7 separate regions of the Homo sapiens genome follow, and all the other regions are linked to region 5. The links are contacts of gene promoters, found by promoter capture Hi-C in blood cells and fetal thymus (Javierre and others, 2016). All regions are on one chromosome and are shown on one strand. Each heading gives the region's core, a stretch centred on a gene start or on the middle of the fragment in contact. The rest is flanking DNA. Distances are from core to core; before and after follow the strand shown. Region 1 holds the start of UBL4A (ubiquitin like 4A). Region 2 overlaps ZNF185 (zinc finger protein 185 with LIM domain). Region 3 holds the start of FAM3A (FAM3 metabolism regulating signaling molecule A). Region 4 holds the start of G6PD (glucose-6-phosphate dehydrogenase). Region 5 holds the start of BCAP31 (B cell receptor associated protein 31). Region 6 has its middle 16 kb from the start of PNMA5. Region 7 holds the start of PLXNA3 (plexin A3).

Region 1 (3,290 bases), core at 618-3,117, 760 kb before region 5:
TCCATTCCTGAGTGTGGGGCAAGGGTCCCTGCTGAGTTTTACTCTTAGCAGTGGGCTTCCAGATCCCCATGCTCCTGGGTTCTTGACTGCCTCCCTCTTCAGAGGTAAGACACATGGCTGGACCAAGGCCTCCAGGGTAAGTGACCCTCACCAGCTGCCTCTCTGTGTCCCTTACCTCCTCAGGGACAGCCCTGCCATCAAGGAAGACAGCACAGGACTGGGACCCACCCATGAACCCTTCTCAGGACAACCCAACAGCACCAGTGGGGATGTTCTCCTAAGCCGCAGAGGGCCTGGGCACGCCATCCGTCCTCCAGGAAGAGCCATGGTGTTAATGCAGGACAAGGGCAGCTCTCAGCAGTGGCCTGGTCTGGGGGGCGAGGGTGGTGGCACAGGTCCCTTAAGCATGCTCAGAGCTGCCCTGCTGCTCATCAGCCTGCCATGGGGGGCCCAAGGGACAGCCAGCACCAGCCTCAGCACTGCTGGGGGTCACACCGTGCCACCGACTGGGGGCCGCTACTTGAGCATTGGAGATGGCTCTGTGATGGAGTTTGAGTTTCCTGAGGACAGTGAGGGCATCATCGTGATCTCCAGCCAGTACCCAGGCCAGGCCAACAGGACGGCGCCTGGCCCCATGCTCAGGGTCACCTCCCTGGACACAGAGGTGCTGACCATCAAGAACGTGAGTGCTATAACCTGGGGAGGCGGGGGTGGCTTTGTGGTGAGCATCCACTCAGGCCTGGCTGGGCTGGCCCCACTCCACATCCAGCTCGTGGACGCCCATGAGGCCCCGCCCACACTGATTGAGGAGCGGAGAGACTTCTGCATCAAGGTCTCACCTGCTGAAGACACGCCTGCCACCCTCAGCGCCGACCTGGCCCACTTCTCGGAAAACCCAATCCTCTACCTGCTCCTGCCTCTTATCTTTGTCAACAAGTGTTCGTTTGGGTGCAAAGTGGAACTCGAGGTTCTGAAGGGGCTCATGCAGAGCCCCCAGCCCATGCTGCTGGGCCTCCTGGGCCAGTTTCTGGTCATGCCCTTGTACGCTTTCCTCATGGCCAAGGTCTTCATGCTGCCCAAGGCCCTGGCTCTGGGCCTCATCATCACCTGCTCGTCGCCTGGCGGCGGGGGGAGCTACCTCTTCAGCCTCCTTCTTGGAGGGGACGTCACCCTGGCCATCTCCATGACTTTCCTCTCTACGGTGGCTGCCACTGGCTTCTTGCCTCTGTCTTCGGCCATCTACAGCCGCCTGCTCAGCATCCATGAGACGCTCCACGTGCCCATCTCCAAGATCCTGGGGACCCTGCTGTTCATTGCCATCCCCATAGCCGTGGGCGTGCTGATCAAGTCCAAGCTCCCCAAGTTCTCCCAGCTGCTGCTGCAGGTCGTCAAGCCCTTCAGCTTTGTGCTCCTCCTGGGCGGCCTCTTCCTGGCCTATCGCATGGGGGTCTTCATCCTGGCAGGCATCCGGCTACCCATCGTACTGGTGGGTATCACGGTGCCCCTGGTTGGCCTGTTGGTGGGCTACTGCCTAGCCACGTGTCTGAAGCTGCCAGTGGCCCAGCGGCGGACGGTCAGCATTGAGGTAGGGGTGCAGAACAGCCTGCTGGCCTTGGCCATGCTGCAGCTATCCCTCCGCCGCCTTCAAGCTGACTATGCCTCCCAGGCCCCCTTCATTGTGGCGCTGAGCGGCACCTCCGAGATGCTGGCCTTGGTCATTGGCCACTTCATCTACAGCAGCCTGTTCCCAGTTCCCTGAGGCCTCTGGGTCAAGCTTTCATCAGCCCCAGCCCCCACACTCCACCAAAGTTCTCATGCACTATGCACTCAGAAAAATCCAGGCTTATTTTTTTTACTGATTTTTTATTCTCCAGCTTTCAGTGCCAAAGAGGCCATGCTGAGTTAGGTAGGTGGGCGCTGCCCAGAAAATATATTTCAATAAAAGAGAGAAGCAAGCTTGGGTCCCTTCTACTCTTTGCCCTTTGGGGCCTGGGCGTGGGGGTAGAAAGAGTGTGCTGGGTAAGTGTGGACCAGGGTGGAGGGCCAGCTTGGGTGACACGGTGACCCCTGCATAGGCTTTCCCTATCAGCCCTCCCCGGGGGTGTCCCCACTCTGGGAGAGGTGGGAGGATGAGGGCAGAGGCGTAGCCCCCCTGCCCCCTCTCAAGCTCAGTGGAGCGTTTCGCAGCCAGACCAGAAAGGAGGAGGTAGGAAGCCACCAGACAGGGAGCGGGGGCGGGCCGTCTGTGGGTATGCAGGGCCAGGCGCCGCCAGCAGTCCTGGCGCGTGAGGTGGGCCAGGCAGTCCGCGGGGGCGAGCGTACCTTCTGGCCCTCCCTTCTCCATGTCCCAGCTCCCAGATGACGCCAACCTGGCCCGACTGGTTCCTGCTCCCAACTCCCCCGCGTCGTTGCTTTGGGAGGGGTCCGCCGGCCAGGGCGGTCGATGCGCGCATGCTAGGCGGGACCCCGGGGGGACTCCTCCCGGGGCGCAATTGGGCCGGGGGGCGGGGCCGGGGCGCGGACGGGGCAGGAGGGCGGGGCCGGGAAGCGCGGGCGGCGGGCGCGCCCCTCTCGCTGCTTCCGGCGGCGGCGGGCGGTTCCAGCGCGCGCCCGGGGCGGCGGCGCGCGGCGGGGGGTGGTTGGGGTGCGCGCCGGCCCGAGTGGACGCCGTCGCGACCGCCATGCAGCTGACGGTGAAGGCGCTGCAGGGCCGCGAGTGCAGCCTGCAGGTAGGGTCCCCGGGCCGGGCCGCCGGGTCCGGCGCGCTCTCTCGCCCGCTCCTGGCAGGGGGACCGGCAGGGCCGAGGGCGGGCACGGGGCGGCCGGGCCGAGGGCCGGGAGCCGGGAGAGCTGCCCTCGGGGGCGGACGCGTGGGCTTCGCCGTCTGGGGGCCGCGGGCTCAACCCTTGCCTCCCACCCTCCGCGCGGCCAGGTGCCAGAGGACGAGCTGGTGTCCACGCTGAAGCAGCTGGTCTCCGAGAAGCTGAACGTCCCAGTGCGCCAGCAGCGGCTGCTGTTCAAGGGCAAGGCCCTGGCAGGTACCCAGGGAGAGGAGACGCCCGGGGAGCCCCGCAGGAAGCGGGACCGGGGTGCGCGGGCCGAGGCCAGCAGCCGTGTGTCGGGTCGGGGTGCGGGCGCCAAGCGCCACATGACCCCAAGGGAGGCGGCCGCATGCCTCACAGCCGGATGCCGCAGCGCTCCGCTCCCGCCGCCCGAGGCGGCCTCGCGCCCCGGGCCACCCCCACGGCGGTGGAGGAGGAGGAACCCATCGATCTGTCTTTGGCAGATGG
Region 2 (2,928 bases), core at 412-2,911, 770 kb after region 5:
CGAACCCTTGGGCTCAAGTGATCTTCCTCCCTCAGCTTCTCAAGTGCTGGGATTACAGGTGTGAGCCATTGCACCCTGCCCAGAGACGGTATTTGCTTTTATTGGACACTTTTTATGGTTCTGTGATTCAGTTACTTTGATTCTGTTAAATGAGCTCTTCCCAGTTCTTTTCTGTTTGAGCAAGAATCTTCGCAGACAGAACTCTTCCTAGCTCTTTTTGAGTGGGGATTTAACCCCTGACTCTGTTGAGCAGGACTCTTCCTGGTCCTTTTCAATTTTAGCCAGAATCGTCCTGGATAGAAGTTTTCTTGGTTCCTTTTGAGTGGAGATTTACTCCAAATTCCTGGCTCTTTTGTGAGGCCTCATTGTTTCCCTTGACACCTTGTCTAGAGATTGCACAAGGAAAGCCCTTCAGCTCCTCAATGAGGACTGAAGAGAAACTTTGGCTCCCAGATGACGACTGTGTGCAGAACTTCCTAATGAGACTGTCCAGCCTGGCTCCTTTCTCTATTTGATCTGCCTCTTCCCACAGGTAACTCTCAATCTACTGGGTGCCCTTCCTCCTCCTCATCCTCCTCCTCCTCCCTTGCTGACTACATGCCCTGCCCCTATGGCACTCATTCTGTCCAGTATTTCCAAAACTGGCAAAAAAAAAAAAAAAAAGTAATCACGAAGGGTAATTTGGAACTTCAGTGACCTTATTAGGGAACCTGGGGTCTCCCCAAACCTGCTCATCTAAGATTCCCCCTTCTCATCTTCCTACCGCATCCCTCTTCCCTTCTTTTCACCACCTTGGACCTTCCCTTCAGCTCCCTGAATCTTTTCATCTGTCCCCTTCAATGCCTCTACCTCCTACATACCCCTATCTACTCTTCACCAGGCTTTCCCCTTCCCACTCAGCCCTCTCAACTGCCTATAGCCAGTAGAGCTTCAGGCCCCCTGCACCCATTGAGGGCTCGCCATTAGATCTCTATTTGTGTCTGTCTGTATGTTTAGTATACATGTATGTTGTATATGTGTAATAGTTCAGTACCTCCAGATGGCATTACCAAATTAATTTACAAAATCCCTTATCCTCTATTCTAATTGACTTAGAGATAAATAAGTACTTATATAAATTATTATAAAGCTCTCATAAATTAAGGAAACAACTTCTAATACTTTCAGTGTAAACAACAAAAAAGTATTCTTATAAAAACTAACCCAAATGCTTTTAAAACTCAAGTTCACAGAATTTATGTAAACTTTTGGCAAACAAAACTAGTTTAATATTGTTAGTTTAATAGACACCTATGTGTCTTTGAGTTATCAGCATTACATATAATACAACAGAATACAAGCATATATTTTTACTCTACTTGGGTATGTTCCTCCTAAACTTAAACAGGTTTACATGTTGAATAAGCTAGTATTATATCTACTACATGTTTAAGATTATAAAAATTTAAATTTGCTTTTAACCAAACTGAGTCATTATTCTGGCAAACTTTATTTCAACAGTAATTATGTTTTATAATATGTAAGCTTAAAGGCAGTTTCTAAAATCTTTTTGGTAACTTAAAACCTTAGACTTATGCTGAATTAAGTTAACTAAATTCATTAAATATCATTTATAAAGAAGATAAAATACTTAGTCACTAGACCTAAATTTAAGTTTATATACTTTTTGCTTTTTTTATGGTACAGTGTGACTACATATGGATCTGTTAAATGTGTTCATTTGTCCACATTGCAAAATGGTACTATAAAAAGTATATAACAACTATAAAAAGTTATGAGATGTATATTCATAAGCTTTACTAGTCTGCTACAAAATGCTGGTATATGATATTTCAAAATTACCTACCTCCTGTTTTCTCTGTGAAAGAGAAGTTATTAATGGTTAAAATTATAATAAGTAAATAAGTGTGTGTGTATATATATATATAAACTGCTAAAAGTAATAATGGCAAAAATGGCAAAGGGAAACAACTTTGTATGCAAATATGCTTTTCCTAAGGAAAAAGAGAATAGCTTTGTCCCAAATTAAAATGACAAATAATTTAAAAATGTGTGAGACAAAATGTAAACAAATATCTTTAAAATTAGAAAATGTTCACAGAAAAGGAATTTTATTTGTCATGGTTAAAACTTTTATTCAGTGTATTTATAAGATTTTCAAAAAAGAACTAATATCAAATATTATACTTGTATAAAATTAAAATGTTGGTTTCTCTGTTAAAATAACAAAATTTTCTTAGGCTAGGTGCAGTGGCTCACGCCTGTAATCCCAGCACTTTGGGAGGCTGAGGTGGGCAGTTCACCTGAGGTCAGGAGTTCGAGACCAGCCTGGCCAACATGGTGATCGCGCGACTGCACTCCAGCCTGGGCAACAGAGCAAGACTCCATCTCAAAAAAAAAAAAAAAAAATTCTTGATCATTGGTCTGTCCCTAATAAAAAGTTATAAATGGTCTGTTTTTCTTCTGAGTCATCTGCCTAAGAGGCAAAGATTTTATGTCTTATCAAAATACTGTAATGCCCTATCTGTATGTTCAGTTTATTATGTCCTTAGTTATTTTTTTAAAGTCTTTTCAATTTTAAAGGAACTGAAGATTCTTTACAACCATGTTACCTCATATGTTTACTTGAAAATTTTTACAACTCTGATTCACTAGCTAACCAAGTAGTATTTCTCGCTAACCCATAATGCTATTCAATCAAATGTTCGAGAACTCCTGACAACTCTTAACATTTGCCTTCCCACAATCAAAACTTAAATATATTTTATACCTAAAACTGGCTTTGGGATTTGCCAGGGACCTTCTGGAAAATCTCAAAGGATTAGTTCTTTCACCTTGTAACAAGAAAGGTGCAAAAACTAATTAGTCTTATTTAATATTGTATAAATTGCATTGGAAACATTGTCAAATCAAAAAAAAAATGCAGAA
Region 3 (2,925 bases), core at 359-2,858, 790 kb before region 5:
TGCCTGCTCTGAACAACATGTAAATATTGTCTTTGAAAAACACCGGCTGGCAGCTCAAGGGTGTGAGTAACCTGGAGCTTCTTCGACTGGGCCCCCCTGAGGAGGGCATGGAGCCCAAGATTCGTTACCATAATTACTTGAGAGGCTGTCAAATTCCATGACAAAACGCAAATGCAAAGCCCTGGCCCCAGCAGCAGGCAGCTGAAAGGGACCTTGACCCTGTTGAGTACTCCAGTATAGAAGCTGCTGGATTCTAACCAGGGCTCTCCCATGCCCGGCTCTATAAACTTTCTCTATATTTTGCATTGTTTCCCTAAGGGTAGGAGATTCCCGTAAGTTGGGTCAAAGGGCAGGGAGGTTTCCGTGGTTCTCATTGGGCCCTGCTGCTGCTCTCCAGACAGATGATGGATCAGCTGTCAGGGTGGCCCCGGCCATGCCAGCGCAGTAGGTGGTCAGGGCGCACTTGGGGCAGCCGGCAGGGCAGAAGGGACGGGAGCTTGACCCGTGTTCTCATGGGCAGAGGGAGCCCGGGCAGTGTTGGGGGCAGCGTGCGGGCAGGCGCGGAGGGGAGATAGCCAGGCAGTCAGGGAGAATTGGGGTGACTGGAGAAAGGCCGAAGGGCCGCGTCTGCCTGCGGCCGGAGACCACCCCAGGTCCATACAGCCAGCTGGGTGCCGGGCACCATTTGGAGCCGCTGGGAAAGCCAAGCACCGCTCTTTCTGGAGCCTTCTTTTTTCCTATTGTTAGGGAATTCACGACGTCACACTTGTTTTCAAGTGAAAATAAGAGTTGTGTAGGACGCGAAAGTCACGTGACTTGAAAGCTGAACCTGAGAGGCCTCAAAATAAATTCTGGTTTGCTGTGAAAGCCTCGGGTTATAGCGCTAAACTCCCCCCTCCACTGCCCCCGAAAGTTGTATTCTCCTCTGCTTTTAGGGTGGGGTGTGGCGTAAACAACACAGCTTGAGCAGCTCTGAGGAGGAGGGTGTTAGAGACCAGGCAGGCGGAGCAGGCAAGAGTTTTCAAGGATGTCGAAATAGTTTGAGACGCCCCGTCCCATTATAAAAGTGATAACGAGAGACAGCAGGAACGCGCTTCTGGACAGAAAACAGACCCTAAGGAAAGGCAGCCAGAGGCTCACGCTGGATCCTGCGGTCTTCCCTATCTGCGCCTCTGTACCTCCCTTGCCTTTACAAAGCGCATGGATCAACTTTGGAACAGGTTCTAATTCTGCCCCAGATCCATCTGCGTCTTCCCACGACTCACAAATCTGACCTCAGGGTGCAAGCGCAGCCCCAGCCCTCTAAGCCTGGGTAGGCAGGGCTCTCCCACCCGAGAAAGGGCCGAGGGGAGACTTCCGGGGCGGGACCGACGTGGGCCCCTCCCACTCGGCGGCCGGTGGGTTCAGCCTGAACGCACTGCGGAGGTGGGGCCGACGAGGGATCCAGGGGCGGGACAGGTTCGGGGCGGGACAGGTTCAGGCCCCTCCCATGCGGCGGCCAGCGCGAGCGGTAGAGGCGGGTCTGGAGGCGGGGCCTGCGTGGAGCCAGACGGCGCAGCTGCTGCCGGGGGCGGGGCCGGCGGGCTGTGGCCCCGCCCTTAGCCGCCATTGCCGGGCCTGCCTGGCCACCCTGCGCAGCGGCCTTGCGTCCTCTCCCGGGGCGGAGCGGGTCGGCGGGCCTGACAGGGAACCTCCCTGACCGAGCCCACGTCTCCCCACGGCCAGAGAAATCTCCGGCCCGGCCCGCATCGCCAGCCCCCAGGCCCGGAGGAACGGCCCGAGCCCAGGAGAACCACATCTTCGTCCCAGCCCCGGAGGCTCCTGTGGGCAAGATCGTGAGCCAACGGGTTCCTGAGGCCCCTCCTGGCCAGGCAGGGTTTCCCCGCGCGTTTCCGAGGAGCCCTGCCTGGCCGGGCGGCTGGACAAACAGGTCGTAGCACCGATCGCGCCCGCCCCCAGCAGGGGTCCCGCACAGGCTTGCCCCTGACCCCCACCCAAACCTGTCCTTCCGCTTTGCCCCCAAACAGTGCACTTGCCGGCGGTCCCAACCCAGCAGGAGAAGTGGACATGAGGTTGGCAGGTGGGTGGCTTCCACAGCGAACGGGAGGGAGTTGAAAAGGGCACCTGGCTGGAGGCCCAGCGTCGCGACATCTGTGTCTGGAGAGGCCCGGGTGAACCACTGGGTTTGGTTTTGGAAATGGAGGACTCTGCACAAACACTCGTTCCTTGACCTTAACCAAATCCTTTCACCTCTGAGGACGTCAGCTCCCCGAGCTATGACATGAGGATTAGTATAGTCAGTATCTCCCAACGCAGGTAGCAGACCAGCTGCTTTTTGGAAAATGAGTGGTGAGAGAGAGGAGGTGGGCAGTCCAGGTGGAGAGGCGTGGTCTTAGAGGGGAAGTGACAAAAGTGGCTGTGGGCTTCGACATGAACCCGATGACAGCCCTACTGTCACCTGGACAAGTAAGATGAAGATCCTTGGGGAGGGATAGGTTGGGGCTGGGTGGAGAGTAGAAACAACTCGGGAATTGGACTTCAGACTTGCTAAGGTGGTAACTTTGTGGACATATCCAGGTGGAGCTGGCCACTGAGGAACCAGCTGGCAGGGAGTGGTTTCAAGAGAGGCCACGGCTGGAACTAGAAAATAGAAAGTCATTGACACATGGTGCTTAATTAAAGAGCTAGGAGTAGATGACATCATCTAAAAACACACTACAGGCCGGGCGCGGTGGCTCACGCCTGTAATCCTAGCACTTTGGGAGGCCGAGGTGGGAGGATCACTTGAAGTCAGGAGTTCGAGACCAGCCTGGCCAACATGGTGAATCCTCATCTCTACTAAAAAAATACAAAAAAATGAGCCTGGCGTGGTGGCGGGTGCCTGTAATCCCAGCTACCCGGGAGGCTGAGGTTGCAGTGAGCCGA
Region 4 (2,993 bases), core at 1-2,500, 820 kb before region 5:
AGATACCTAGCTGCCAAACTATATGTGAGGCATTTCCGAAGAATTTAACGACCTCGATAGAGCGCAGTCAAGTTTGGTGAACAGAATATGTCTCTGAACTAGAGGAGTCCTCACACAAGGAGTAGGGTCAGACCCCGCAGTGGAGGAGGAGGGAGGAGTAGAAACAGTCCAGCTCGCCGCCCAAGTAACCTGGGTCCTGAATCGGCCCGCCTTGGCCAGTGCTCCAGAAGCGCGGAGCAGGAACGGGCTGGGGCCCAAAAAAGAGGGGGGAGCCTGAACGTCCGGGGGAAGTTTCGGAGGCGGCGGAACGCCCACGGATGGAACCCTGTCTTTGGGGAAAAGGACCACACCTGTCAGCAGAGTCCGTCAGACGTGAGAAGGGTGGGAGCGGCGGACTGTGAACGCTGGTAGGGCCCCGGCGCTCCGAGAAAGTCCCAGTTTCGCGGTCGCCCTTCCCTACCACGCTTCCGGCTTCCGGTGTCATAGCTGTGGGATCCGGAAGTAAAAACACAAGCCCCGCCCCCGAGAACTCGGGAAGCCGGCGAGAAGTGTGAGGCCGCGGTAGGGCCGCATCCCGCTCCGGAGAGAAGTCTGAGTCCGCCAGGCTCTGCAGGCCCGCGGAAGCTCGGTAATGATAAGCACGCCGGCCACTTTGCAGGGCGTCACCGCCTACACGCCCCCTCGTCTCTCGGACGGCGGCGTCTAGCCTCGGGGCGCTCGGCCGCCCCGCCCTCTCCGGGGGAGGAATCAAGAAGAGACTGCCCAATAGGGCCGGCTTGACCCGCGAACAGGCGAGGGTTCCCGGGGGAGTGGCGCGGCAGAAGGCCCCGCCCAGGAGCCGAGGGACAGCCCAGAGGAGGCGTGGCCACGCTGCCGGCGGAAGTGGAGCCCTCCGCGAGCGCGCGAGGCCGCCGGGGCAGGCGGGGAAACCGGACAGTAGGGGCGGGGCCGGGCCGGCGATGGGGATGCGGGAGCACTACGCGGAGCTGCACCCGTGCCCGCCGGAATTGGGGATGCAGAGCAGCGGCAGCGGGTATGGCAGGCAGCCGGCGGGCCGGCCTCCAGCGCAGGTGCCCGAGAGGCAGGGGCTGGCCTGGGATGCGCGCGCACCTGCCCTCGCCCCGCCCCGCCCGCACGAGGGGTGGTGGCCGAGGCCCCGCCCCGCACGCCTCGCCTGAGGCGGGTCCGCTCAGCCCAGGCGCCCGCCCCCGCCCCCGCCGATTAAATGGGCCGGCGGGGCTCAGCCCCCGGAAACGGTCGTACACTTCGGGGCTGCGAGCGCGGAGGGCGACGACGACGAAGCGCAGGTAACCGGCCGGGCGGGCGCCGCGCAGGCGGAGGAGCGTACTGTCCCGCGCTGCGCCGCGCGGCGGTAAAATACACGCTGTTTGTTGTGCTTGAGAACCGAGCAGAATCGAGAGGGTCTTAACCAATCCCTTTATACCCCGCACCTCCTCTCTTGAGCCCCTGAGACCCCGAGAGCGAAGGGGACTTGCCGACCGGGGTCACCCAGCTTGGCAAGGGGAGGGCTGGAGCTGAACTCCAGCATCTGCACCATCTCCCATGCTCCAGGTCATTGTGGAGTTCCCGCTACAGTCGGGAATGAGATGGTCCTGGGCACGCAGTTCCATGCCCCACAAGGATTTTACTCGGTTGTCCAGAATTGATGCTGTAGTCGGAATACACCAATGCTTTGAGTAATTTTGTAATGTACACCCTGAATGAAGGCTGCCTAGGAGAGAGTGGCTGGAGCCCAGAGCCAGCAGTTTCTAACCCATCAACCACTCCCCAATGCCCAGCCGTTCACAAGGAGTGATTTGGGCAATCAGGTGTCACCCTGGTGTGAGACCCCAGAGGAACTCTCAAGAAAGGGGCTAACTTCTCAATGCTCTCCTGTTCTTCTGCCTTGTTAACGAGCCTTTCTTCCACCAGACAGCGTCATGGCAGAGCAGGTGGCCCTGAGCCGGACCCAGGTGTGCGGGATCCTGCGGGAAGAGCTTTTCCAGGGCGATGCCTTCCATCAGTCGGATACACACATATTCATCATCATGGGTGCATCGGTGAGTATCTCCCAGGCCCCAATCTTAAAAGCCAGGAAGTGCCTGCTCCATGCCTCAGCTTTTCCAACTAATTGTTGCAGGGCCCCACAGGCTCTGCTAAGTTGAGCTCCTCCTCCCGCTCCTGCTAGTGCGCCAGGATCATCCCGGCTCTACCTGGTGTGCATATGCACTTGCAAGACTTTTTTTTTTTTTTTTTTTTGGAGACGGAGTTTTGCTCTGGTCGCCCAGGATGGGGTGCAGTGGCGCCATCTTGGCTCACTGCAACCTCGGCCTCCTGGGTTCAAGCGATTCTCCTGCCTCAGCCCCCCAAGTAGCTGAGATTACAGGCATGCACCACCACACCCGGCTAATTTTTGTATTGTTAGTAGAGACGGAGTTTCACCATGTTGACCAGGCTGGTCTCAAACTCCTGACCTCAAGTGATCCGCCCGCCTCGGCCTCCCAAAGTGCTGGGATGACAGGCATGAGCCACCACGCCCGGCTGCAGGACGTTTCTGAACCCTGTGCCTAGCCGCTGAATGTAGCCCTTAATCCTGGAGTTGCAGGCTCTTTAGGGACTGTCTAGATGGACTTCTTGGGGAAAACAGGGAATGCTATTCATTCTGTAGTTTTTTCAGACCTGTTCATGCCTTAACAAATGAGTTCCAAAGGCAGGATCTGAGGCCTGATCTCTGCCTCTTCACTAACACTTCAAGTTCCGTCGATACAAACACTTAGCTTTTCTTTGAACACTGTCTCTTTGCCTCAATTTCGAAAGCCTACCAAGGAGCTCTGCCTCACCCCACCTGGCCCCAATTGTCCAGCTTGTAGAACCGCCATTCTGCACTCATAGGAAAGACAAAAGAATAGTATAGCATGAGGATTTCCATGGGAGGGGAGGGAGGGGTGGTCCTAGGACAGCCATCGCCCGAGACTAGAGCACCCTCCCCTGTG
Region 5 (2,907 bases), core at 1-2,500:
GGACGATGCAGCGGGCCAGCCTTCCGTCCAGGCGGGCCACATACACCGACAGGAAGGTGCGGCTCACCAAGGCGGCCGAGTGCAGGGCCAGCAGCCCCGTCTCCCGGCACAGGACCCGGGGGAACAGCAGCCGCAGGAGCCACAGGAGCCGCTGCAGGAATACCCGGTTCATGCCAGCTTTGGCCGCCGCGACCCCGGAGGCCTCCTGCGTGGGCTCCCCGGCGGGCGCCTGAAGACCCCTGGCCGGGGCCAGGCACTGGCGCACCAAGGGGTAGACTTTGTGGGCTCCATAGGCCGCGAGGGCCAGGAGCACGGCCGTGCGCTTCAGCGTGTTCCCCCGCCAGGGCCGGGGCCTGGAGAGCACCGGCATGTCACCTGGGCTGGCTGCCGCGTAGGGACTGGGGCTGGTGCCTGGGGCAGCAGTTGAGGCAGGTGGCTGGAAGGATTGTTGCTCTGACCCTGGGCCTGTTGTCTAGGCAACTGGAAACCTTGCGATGGCCCCTGAGACTGTCGCTTTAGGCCCCCGGGGTGGTGCTGGGGCCCCTGGTGCGGTGGGCTCAGGGCCCTCCAGGGTCGCGGCCTCTTCGGGCAGCCCAAGTGGAGGAACTTGGCTCTCCTGTCCTGTCAGTGCCCTGGCCCCTGAGGTCAGGGCCTTGAGAGGTCTCGGGCAGAGGGGGCGTCTCTTCCTCTCCACCTTCTCCTCCTCCTCCTCCCCCGGTGGCGCCCCTCCCCGGGGCACCAGGCGCGTCCGTCCGCTCCGCAGCCTGGCTGAAGCGACAGTGACTCCTCCACCGGCCCAGAATCCCCACCCACTCTTCCCCAGGGGCGAGTCGGGGGAAGGGGAGGAGGCGGAGGAGGGGCGAGGGGCGGAGTCCGGGCGCGGGAGCCCCACCCTGTTCTCGCCCCTCGGCGGGGCCCGCCCACACCCCCACCTCCCGTTCTCGCCCCTCGGCGGGGCCCCTCCCGCACCACAGAGACGTGGGACGGCCGCGCGGACTAGAGAAGCGGCCCTCGCCGGCCCGACAAAGCCCCGCCCCGCCCCGCCCGCGTGCTCGCTCCACCCCGCCCTGCTCGCCCGGAGCCCGAGGCGCCTCTTCCTCTCCCGCTCGGAGCGCCGGCCCTCCGCTCCGGGGCGGGGTGGGAAGCGGAGGTGGGCGGAGCCTCCGGGGCCTCGCGAGGGCTGGTGGGCGGTGCCCGGCGGGCGCTTCCGGTTTCCGGCCGCGGTATGAGGGGCGGGGCCGGGGCTGCTGTGGGAGAGTTCTGTTGCTGCGGCGGGGCCTGCACGTTGACTGTGGGAAACTCGGTGAGCGGGCTCCGCGCGCCGGGCTGGGCTCCGGGACCGCGGAGGCTCCCCGGCCCATCGACGAGGGAGAGAGGCGAGCGGCGCGGGGAGGCCCGGGGGCCGGGGAATCTCGGGGCCCGCAGCCTACCTGCGTGTGAGAGGCAGGGGCGAGGGGAAACCGGGCGGCGCCTCTAGAAGCTGGTCTCGGGGGCGGGGCGGGGGGCGGTGAAGCCCCACCTGGAGGAGCGGCCGGGATGGGCCTCCGGGACGGTGTGCCAGGCCGGGGCCAAGTCGGAGGCCCCTCGCTCTGGGTGGGCGCTGGGGCCCGCGAGGGCTACTGTAAGGACCCCTGGCTTCTGAGGATACTGCGTCTAGAACTTTCTCCGTATGGGGCCTTGAGGTGCTTGGTCGAGACCTGCCTTTGCGCTTGGTCCCGAATCCTGCCCTCTAGGAGTCGCTCTTGCGGGCCTCCAGCCCACCGGAGGCGAAGCGGCCCCGGGCGGAAGGCCGCTGGATCCTCGAGGGAGGTGCCGGTTTCTCTCCGCGGGCGCCGTGGGGACGGTGGGAGGCGGGGGCGTCGGCAGCGCTTGGACTAGGTGCGGCCTTGGGCCTGCCTGGTAGCGGGGATTTGGGCCCGCAGAGCGCCCGCCTCTGCGGCTGAGTTCTGCCTGGCGGGGAAGGGAGCGCCCGATGGGTGCCGAGGCGTCCTCCTCTTGGTGCCCTGGCACTGCTCTTCCCGAAGAACGCCTTTCAGTTAAACGGGCGTCGGAAATCTCGGGCTTCCTGGGGCAGGGATCGTCGGGAGAGGCCGCTCTGGACGTGTTGACACACGTGCTGGAGGGGGCAGGTAATTGACCAGCGAACGGAAGTTTGTGGGGCCTGTGAACGCTGCTGGCCAAGAGGCCCTGCCGAGTGGAGCCCTGCTTCCGCCAGCGCATCAGAGACTTTGAAGCAAAGTGCAGGGGGTCAGGGTGGAGAGTGGCGGCCCCAGCCTCGCAGGGTAACTGAACTGGATGTTCTTGGCTGCCCAGCGCTTACAAGTCCCGTACCTTTTGTGCCCTGCCAGGAAACAAGCTCACATCTTCCTGTGGGAAACCTTCTAGCAACAGGATGAGTCTGCAGTGGACTGCAGTTGCCACCTTCCTCTATGCGGAGGTCTTTGTTGTGTTGCTTCTCTGCATTCCCTTCATTTCTCCTAAAAGGTATGGCCTATGGAGCAAGCAGGCGAGTTAGGCAGGAGGGTGCCTGTGCCCTAGCCCTGGGACTGGTGTGTGCAGCTGGTGGACCCTGGAATTGGGACCCGATGGAACAGGTAGAACCTGTCTGGGGTGGGGGTGGCAGGGGTTGTGTTTGTTATTGCCAACCCTTCCCAGGGTTCTGCTTCGTCATGACTTGCTCAGTTCCTTTTCCTGTGTCCCCTGCCTTCTGGTCTTCAGAATGCCCCCGAGAGGCAGGAAGATCTATGTTACAGTTCTGGAAATGATGCCCTCCCACCCACTCTTGGTCCACGGGGTGCTGGGATGGTAGCGTGGGATTCGGAAGACTTGCACCACTGGGTCACGTTGTTGCTGATTTGGTGACTCTTGTCCTCCTAACTAGTCTCACTGGTATTGCGCAGTGGCTGC
Region 6 (3,070 bases), core at 305-2,804, 750 kb after region 5:
GCTGAAGAATGGGACTGCCATTTACGGAGCTGTGGATGGCAATGCATAGAGCATGGCTTCCATGGTTGAGTATGAAATGACAATTAGACTCCCCAGGTGGAAATGAGCTGTGGGAAGTTGAAACACAAGTCTGAAGTTCAGGAAGATGATGTGGGCTGGAGCAGCTGCAATTCCAGAAGGAGGCAGTGTATACTGTATCTGTTGAAGCCTGGACCCCAGTGATACAACGCAGTGAGTGCAGATAGAAAAGCGAAGGGGTCTAAGAACAAAGTCCTAGAGTACTCCAAAGTTGAGAGAATGGGATGATGAGAAAGAACCAGCAATGGAGATAGAAAAGGAGTGACCAGTGAGGTGGAAGGAAAGGCAGAATGGGCCTAGAGGCCTAGCAAAGGGAATGGACCTGATATGGTTTGGCTCTGTGTCCCCATCCAAATCTAATCACGAATTGTAATCCCCACACGTCAAGGGAGGGAGCCATAATTCCCACATGTTGAGAGAGGGAGGTGACTGGATAATGGGGGCAGTTCCCCCCATGCTGTTCTCGTGATAGTGACTTCTCAGAGATGTGATGGCTTTATAAGCGTTGGCATTTCCCCTGCTTGTACTTCTCTCTCCTGCAGCCTTGTGAAGAAGGTGCCTGCATCCCCATCACCTTCTGCCATGATTGTAAGTTTCCTGAGGCCTCCCAGCCATGTGGAACTGTGAGTCGATTAAACCTCTTTCCTTTATAAATTACCCAGTCTCAGGTATTTCTTTATAGCAGTGTGAAAACAAACTAATACATGTCCACTGGACCAAACGCTGCTGCTCAGTCAATGAGGCCTGAGAAGTGTGCATGGGGTCTAGCAATGTGGTGGTCATTGGGGACCTTAGCACTAGCATTTTTAGTACCATGGTGGAGGTGAGAGCCTCAAAGAAGTGGGTTCAAAAGAAAATGAAAAAAGAGTAAAGACTTTCATGTTTATTTAGCACCTGCTTCCTATCATTGACCAGAAGGACAGGGTCTTTGATTTGTCACTGGTGTGTCCTCAGTGCCTACTATAGTGTGTGGCCCACAGTGGGTGCTCAGGAAATATTTAAATTATTAAATGGATGAATGAATGAATGATTCTTTCTCATCCTTCAGGTTTCAGTTCAGAGGTCACCTCCCCCAGAATACCATCCTTAGCCCCAGAAATCCAGGTGACACACCTCTGTGCTCCTTTAGCTATTGCGACTGAAATAGGATTGTTGCTTTGTCTTTCTCCCCATGAGATGGTCACTCCACAAATTCACAGATTGTCTGTCTTGCTCATTGATGTATCCCCAGTGCCCCACAGAAGGCTTGATGCACTGTACAAGGAAAGTGAGTAGCCTTGAGGGGTGGAGCTGAGTGCAGGGGAACATTAAAGAGGGCCTGGAAGATAGCCTCCTTTTGTATAGCAAACTCATACTAAAGCCAAATATCATGTCCTTGTGAAAAGCTTCTCTGTTAGATGTGGTGGTATGTGCATCTGTAGTCTCAGCAACTCAGGTGGCTGAGCCTGGATAACTGCTTGAGCCCAGGAGTTTGAGGTTGCAGTGAGCTACGACCATGCCACTGCTCTCCAGCCTGGGTGACAGAGTAAAAATCTGTCTCTAAAAACAAAAATGTAAAAAAGCTTCCCTGACTAAGTGTTGTGGGAAGTCAGGGACCCCGAACGGAGAGACCAGCTGGAGCCGTGGCAGAGGAACACAAATTGTGAAGATTTCATTTTAACATGGACATTTATCAGTTCCCAAAATTAGTACTTTCATAATTTCTTATGCCTGTCTTTAATCTCTTAATCCTGTTATGTTCAAAAAGAAAGGGAGAGATGTTGCGGGAAGTCAGAGACCCTGAACGGAGGGACTGGCTGGAGCCACAGCAGAGGAACATAAATTGTGAAGATTTCATTTTAGTATGGACATTTATCAGCTCCCAAAATTAATGCTTTTATAATTTCTTATGCCGGTCTTTACTTTAATCTCTTAATCCTGTTATCTTCGTAAGCTGAGAATATACATCAGGTCCACTCAGAACCACTATTGTGTTAACTGTACAAACTGATTGTAAAACATGTGTGTTTGAACAATATGAAATCAGTGCACCTTGAAAAAGAACAGAGTAACAGCGATTTTTAGGGAACAAGGGAAGACAACCATAAGGTCTGACTGCCTGTGGGGTCGGGCAGAATAGAGCCATATTTTTCTTCTTGCAGAGAGCCTATAAACAGACGTGTGCAAGTAGGGAAGATATCACTAAATTCTCTTCCTAGCAAGGAATATTAATAATTAAGACCCTGGGAAAGGAATGCATTCCTGGGGGGGGAGGTCTATAAACGGCCGCTCTGGGAGTGTCTGTCTTATGAGGTTGAGATAAGGATAGAAATACGCCCTGGTCTCCTGCAGTACCCTCAGGCTTACTAGGATTGGGAAACCCCCAGCCCTGGTAAATTTGAGGTCAGACTGGTTCTCTGCTCTTGAACCCTGTTTTCTGTTAAGATGTTTATCAAGACAATACATGCACAGCTGAACATAGACCCCTATCAGGAGTTCTGATTTTGTCCTTGCTCTGTTTCCTCAGAAGCATGTGATCTTTGTTCTGCTTTTTGCCCCTTAAAGCATGTGACCTACTCCCCATTTGTACACCCCCTCCCCTTTTGAAATCCTTAGTAAAAACTTACTAGTTTTGTGGCTCAGGTGGGCATCACAGTCCTACCAATATGTGATGTCACCCCCGGAGGCCCAGCTATAAAATTCCTCTCTTTGTACTCTTTCTATTTCTCAGCTGGCTGACATTTATGGAAAACAGAAAGAACTTACGTTGAAATATTGGGGGCGGGTTCCCCCGATAACCAAGCAGCCCAGAGTAGGTCACTATATTATAGCATATAGGTCAAGGCTGCAGTGAGGGCCTTGACCCTGTCTCCAAAACATACCCTGTATGTTTTGTTCAGAGCACTTATCACAACAGTATTTTGTTGTGGGATGTTTGATTTACTCCTCTCCTCTTACACTGTGAGCTCCACAGAAATACAAACTGTGTCTACTTTACTGGGGCCCCCACGTC
Region 7 (2,981 bases), core at 104-2,603, 730 kb before region 5:
CCTCCCCGACAAGGGCCTCAGCTGGCCATCCAGGAGCCCGCTGTCTGGCCTCCCCGATGCAACACAAAGCCAAGTCGCGCCTGCCCCTCAGCCACGCACCCAGACACACATCAGTCAAGCTCTGCTCAGCCACAGCCTGCATGGCTCCCCCTCCAGACCCAGGGGTTCACTGGAGAAGGGAATGTACAGGGGGCCCTACCTGCCCTTTGGAGTCCCAGGAGCCTTACAAGAGGAGGAGCAATGTCCCCAAATACAGTCAAGGCCTTGGAGAGACAGGGCAGGAGCCACAGGGACAGTGCTGGGACTGGCACTTAGTCCCCAGGCCACACCCAGTCAGCCCCAGGCTGCTAAGACAGCAGAGCAGTGTCGTGGCAGCCAACAGGGCAGGGCTCAGCGCTACCCTCTCAGTGCCAGAGCTCCCGGGGGAGATAGGAGGTACCCAGCTTGAGGGCGGGAGGCGGGGGGGGAGCGGGGGGTGGTGCAGGGAACCAAACCAAGGAGGCACAGGAGAGAGAAAGGAAAAATAAGGCATTTGCCAGGAACAAGCAGCGGGCCCAGCTTGAAACTGCAAAGTTTCAGCTCAGATTGATCACCTCTCCAGGGCTCTTTTGTCAGCTGGACCCCTCATGCAACAGCCGGAGAAGAAAGGAAGGCCAAAGAAAAGAGAGGCCACATCCTGTCTTCACCTCCTCTACACCCCGGGAACACAAGCCTAGGAACAGGCTGGGGACAGGTCGGGAGGGAGACCTGGGGAGGCAGTTTCAGGCCCAGCCCCCACCTGTAAGTGGCAACCTCGGGCATCACAGGTACAGCTGGGCCAGCAGAGAGCCTGAGGAAGGGGCAGCCCCACGCAGAGACGGGGGTCCAGCGGCCGCCCCCCACACCCCCCACCGTGCTGCTGGTCCGGTTTGCCCGGGCCCCATCAGGGCACCCCTCGGCGGACTCGCGGAGCCCTTAGCGGGAGGGAAGTACAGCGTTGATCCTCCGAGGGGCCGCTCCCCTGCGACAAAGGGTCCTCTTTGGGCAGGGTGTTGGTCTTGGGTTGGCGTCCCCACCATGCGGGGCACAAGGAGTCGGGCAGGCCGGCGCCGACGGGCAGGGATAGGGCCTGACCCCCACAGGCCGAGCCGGACCCCCGGGCTGCCGGAGCCCCGGGCCCCGAGCTGTTTGGCCCCGCACGGACGGCGACGATGACGGCCACCTACCTGTCCCTCCGCTGGCTCCGGGTGGCCGCCCTCTGGCCACGTGGACGCGCCCCCGAGCCCCACCGCGGCCCCGCTCGCACGTCCCCACGGCCTCGCCCCGCGCCCCGGGCCCCAAGCGCGCAGCCGCCGCCGCCGCCGCCCACACACTGGGCTGGCCCGGGGGCCGCCGGAGCCTTTTAAACCCGGACCGTACCACCGCGCGGGGCGGGGGCGTCCGGGGACGCCCGGCCGAGGGGGACGCGGCGGCAGGGGACGCAGGCGGGGCCGCTGCTCCCCGGGGCCAGGGACCTCGCGCGCAGCCCTGACCCCCGCGACCTGAAGGGGGACCCGCCCGGCCAGCCGACCCCCTTCGCTCGATGGCCGCGTCCGCGGCGCGCGCCTCCCCCGCGCCCCGGCTCCCCGCCCGCCGCCTCGGGCGACCCCGGAACCCGCGCGCGCCCGCGCCACACCCCCTCGGGCCTGGGGCGCGCGTCCGCCTCGCCCCACCCTGGCGCTCGGAGACGCGCCCGGGGTCACCTGCCACCGGGGCGCGGCCTCGCTGGTCCCGGCCTCTCAGGTGCACCCCCGCCGAGGAGTCGCGTCCCCAGCTCAAGACACGCCCCCGACGGTCTCTAACCCGGAGGGCCTGCGGGACAGCCGTCCAAACCAGCCCCTTCCCCGGCGACCCTGAACCGAGGGCTTTCTTCCTTCCCTTGCTTTCTTTTTCCTTTTCTTTTTTTGTTTTCTTTTGACACAGGGTCTCGCTCTGTCACCCGGGCTGGAGTGCAGTGGTGAGATCATAGCTCACTGCAGCCTCGACCGCCCCAGGCTCAAACGATGCTCCCGCCTCAGCCTCCCAAAGTGCTGGGACTACAGGTGTGAGCCACCGCGCCCCGTTAAGGTTTTCTTTTTCATTTCCCTGATGACTAATGGTGTTCAGCATCTTTTCATGTGCTTGCTGGCCTTTTGTATATGATCTCTGAAGAAATGTCTATTCAAGTCATTTGCCCATTTTTATTAAACACATATATGGAGAGATAGATAGATAGACAGATTTTTCCCCCCAAGTTGAGGTCGCGCTCTATCACCCAGGCTGCAGTGTAGCGGCATTGGATCATGGCTCACTGCAGCCTCGACTTCCTGGGCTCAAGGGATCCTCCTGCCTCAGCCTCCCAGGTAGCTGGGACCACAGGCAAGTGCCACCACGCCTGGCTAACTTTTCCTATTCTTGTAGAGAGAGACAGGGTCTTGCTACACTGCCCAGGCTAGTCTTGAACTCCTGGGCTTAAGTAATCCTCCTGCCTCAGCCTTCCAAAGTACTGGCATATGCTGGGTGCAGTGACTCAAGCCTGTAATCCCAGCATTTTGGAAGGCTGAAGTGAGCGGATCACCTGAGGTCAGGAGTTCGAGACCAGCCTGGCCAACATGGCAAAACCCCATCTCTACAAAAAATACAAAAATTAGCCGGACATGGTGTCATATGCCTGTAGTCCCAGCTACTCAGGAGGCTGAAGCAGGAGAATTTTTTTTTTTTTTTTTTTTTTTTTTAGACAAAGTCTTGCTCTGTCGCCAAGGCTGGAGTGCAGTGGTGTGACCTCGGCTCACTGCAAGCTCCGCCTCCCGGGTTCACGCCATTCTCCTGTCTCAGCCTCCCAAGTAGCTGGGACTACAGGCACTCGCCACCACGCCCGGCTAATTTTTTTGTATTTTTGGTAGAGACGAGGTTTCACCGTGTTAGCCAGGATGGTCTCGATCTCCTGACCTTGTGATCCGCCCATCTCGGCCTCCCAAAGTGCT

The links. The method cuts DNA at HindIII sites, captures the fragments that hold promoters and counts their contacts. A CHiCAGO score of 5 or more calls a contact.
Region 1: a contact is called between a fragment that was not itself captured here and the fragment with the promoter of BCAP31 in region 5, in 5 of 17 cell types (naive B cells, fetal thymus, total B cells and 2 more). The highest score is 7.7, in naive B cells.
Region 2: a fragment that was not itself captured here is called in contact with the fragment with the promoter of BCAP31 in region 5 in 9 of 17 cell types (total CD8 T cells, total B cells, erythroblasts and 6 more); the score reaches 13.7 in total CD8 T cells.
Region 3: the fragment with the promoter of FAM3A here is called in contact with the fragment with the promoter of BCAP31 in region 5 in 4 of 17 cell types (non-activated CD4 T cells, naive B cells, naive CD4 T cells and 1 more); the score reaches 8.1 in non-activated CD4 T cells.
Region 4: a contact is called between the fragment with the promoter of G6PD here and the fragment with the promoter of BCAP31 in region 5, in 10 of 17 cell types (activated CD4 T cells, monocytes, naive B cells and 7 more). The highest score is 11.6, in activated CD4 T cells.
Region 6: a contact is called between a fragment that was not itself captured here and the fragment with the promoter of BCAP31 in region 5, in 7 of 17 cell types (naive CD8 T cells, activated CD4 T cells, total B cells and 4 more). The highest score is 9.3, in naive CD8 T cells.
Region 7: the fragment with the promoter of PLXNA3 here is called in contact with the fragment with the promoter of BCAP31 in region 5 in 6 of 17 cell types (total CD4 T cells, naive CD8 T cells, erythroblasts and 3 more); the score reaches 8.1 in total CD4 T cells.

What each region holds. Positions count from the first base shown.
Region 1 is chrX:154,485,976-154,489,265 of GRCh38, reverse strand. It overlaps UBL4A (ubiquitin like 4A), which reads left to right and starts at 2,651. Exons shown (of 4, transcript NM_014235.5): 1 at 2,651-2,729; 2 at 2,933-3,038; 3 at 3,287-3,290. The coding sequence starts at 2,682. It overlaps SLC10A3 (solute carrier family 10 member 3), which reads left to right. Exons shown (of 2, transcript NM_019848.5): 2 at 184-1,955. The coding sequence starts at 326. The coding sequence ends at 1,759. RefSeq lists enhancers at 2,048-2,107, 2,445-3,203, 3,204-3,290 and silencers at 2,368-2,627, 3,118-3,267. The HindIII fragment of the contact is 182 bases long and covers 1,777-1,958 here.
Region 2 is chrX:152,950,567-152,953,494 of GRCh38, reverse strand. The region is part of intron 18 of ZNF185 (zinc finger protein 185 with LIM domain); the gene reads right to left. Among named protein-coding and RNA genes, the nearest start is that of PNMA5, 42 kb to the left of the region's middle. The HindIII fragment of the contact is 270 bases long and covers 1,527-1,796 here.
Region 3 is chrX:154,514,915-154,517,839 of GRCh38, reverse strand. It overlaps FAM3A (FAM3 metabolism regulating signaling molecule A), which reads left to right and starts at 1,608. Exons shown (of 9, transcript NM_021806.4): 1 at 1,608-2,080. The coding sequence starts at 2,068. LOC124905229 (a long non-coding RNA gene) reads right to left here and starts at 2,360. Exons shown (of 2, transcript XR_007068357.1): 1 at 2,125-2,360. RefSeq lists silencers at 962-1,118, 1,334-1,743 and enhancers at 1,094-1,716, 1,717-2,340. The HindIII fragment of the contact is 19,151 bases long and covers 1-2,925 here.
Region 4 is chrX:154,545,103-154,548,095 of GRCh38, reverse strand. G6PD (glucose-6-phosphate dehydrogenase) reads left to right here and starts at 1,250. Exons shown (of 13, transcript NM_001360016.2): 1 at 1,250-1,307; 2 at 1,933-2,060. The coding sequence starts at 1,941. IKBKG (inhibitor of nuclear factor kappa B kinase regulatory subunit gamma) reads right to left here and starts at 476. Exons shown (of 10, transcript NM_001099857.5): 1 at 351-476. RefSeq lists enhancers at 89-368, 1,671-2,214 and a silencer at 809-1,368. The HindIII fragment of the contact is 7,888 bases long and covers 1-2,993 here.
Region 5 is chrX:153,722,730-153,725,636 of GRCh38, reverse strand. BCAP31 (B cell receptor associated protein 31) reads left to right here and starts at 1,250. Exons shown (of 8, transcript NM_001256447.2): 1 at 1,250-1,303; 2 at 2,349-2,484. The coding sequence starts at 2,393. ABCD1 (ATP binding cassette subfamily D member 1) reads right to left here and starts at 781. Exons shown (of 10, transcript NM_000033.4): 1 at 1-781. The coding sequence starts at 370. RefSeq lists an enhancer at 1-161 and silencers at 622-1,581, 1,792-1,971. The HindIII fragment of the contact is 9,880 bases long and covers 1-2,907 here.
Region 6 is chrX:152,976,087-152,979,156 of GRCh38, reverse strand. No RefSeq gene overlaps it. Among named protein-coding and RNA genes, the nearest start is that of PNMA5, 16 kb to the left of the region's middle. The HindIII fragment of the contact is 177 bases long and covers 1,466-1,642 here.
Region 7 is chrX:154,456,653-154,459,633 of GRCh38, reverse strand. PLXNA3 (plexin A3) reads right to left here and starts at 1,353. Exons shown (of 33, transcript NM_017514.5): 1 at 1,206-1,353. RefSeq lists enhancers at 1-450, 1,876-1,945 and silencers at 936-1,005, 1,246-1,485, 1,616-1,785. The HindIII fragment of the contact is 19,869 bases long and covers 1-2,981 here.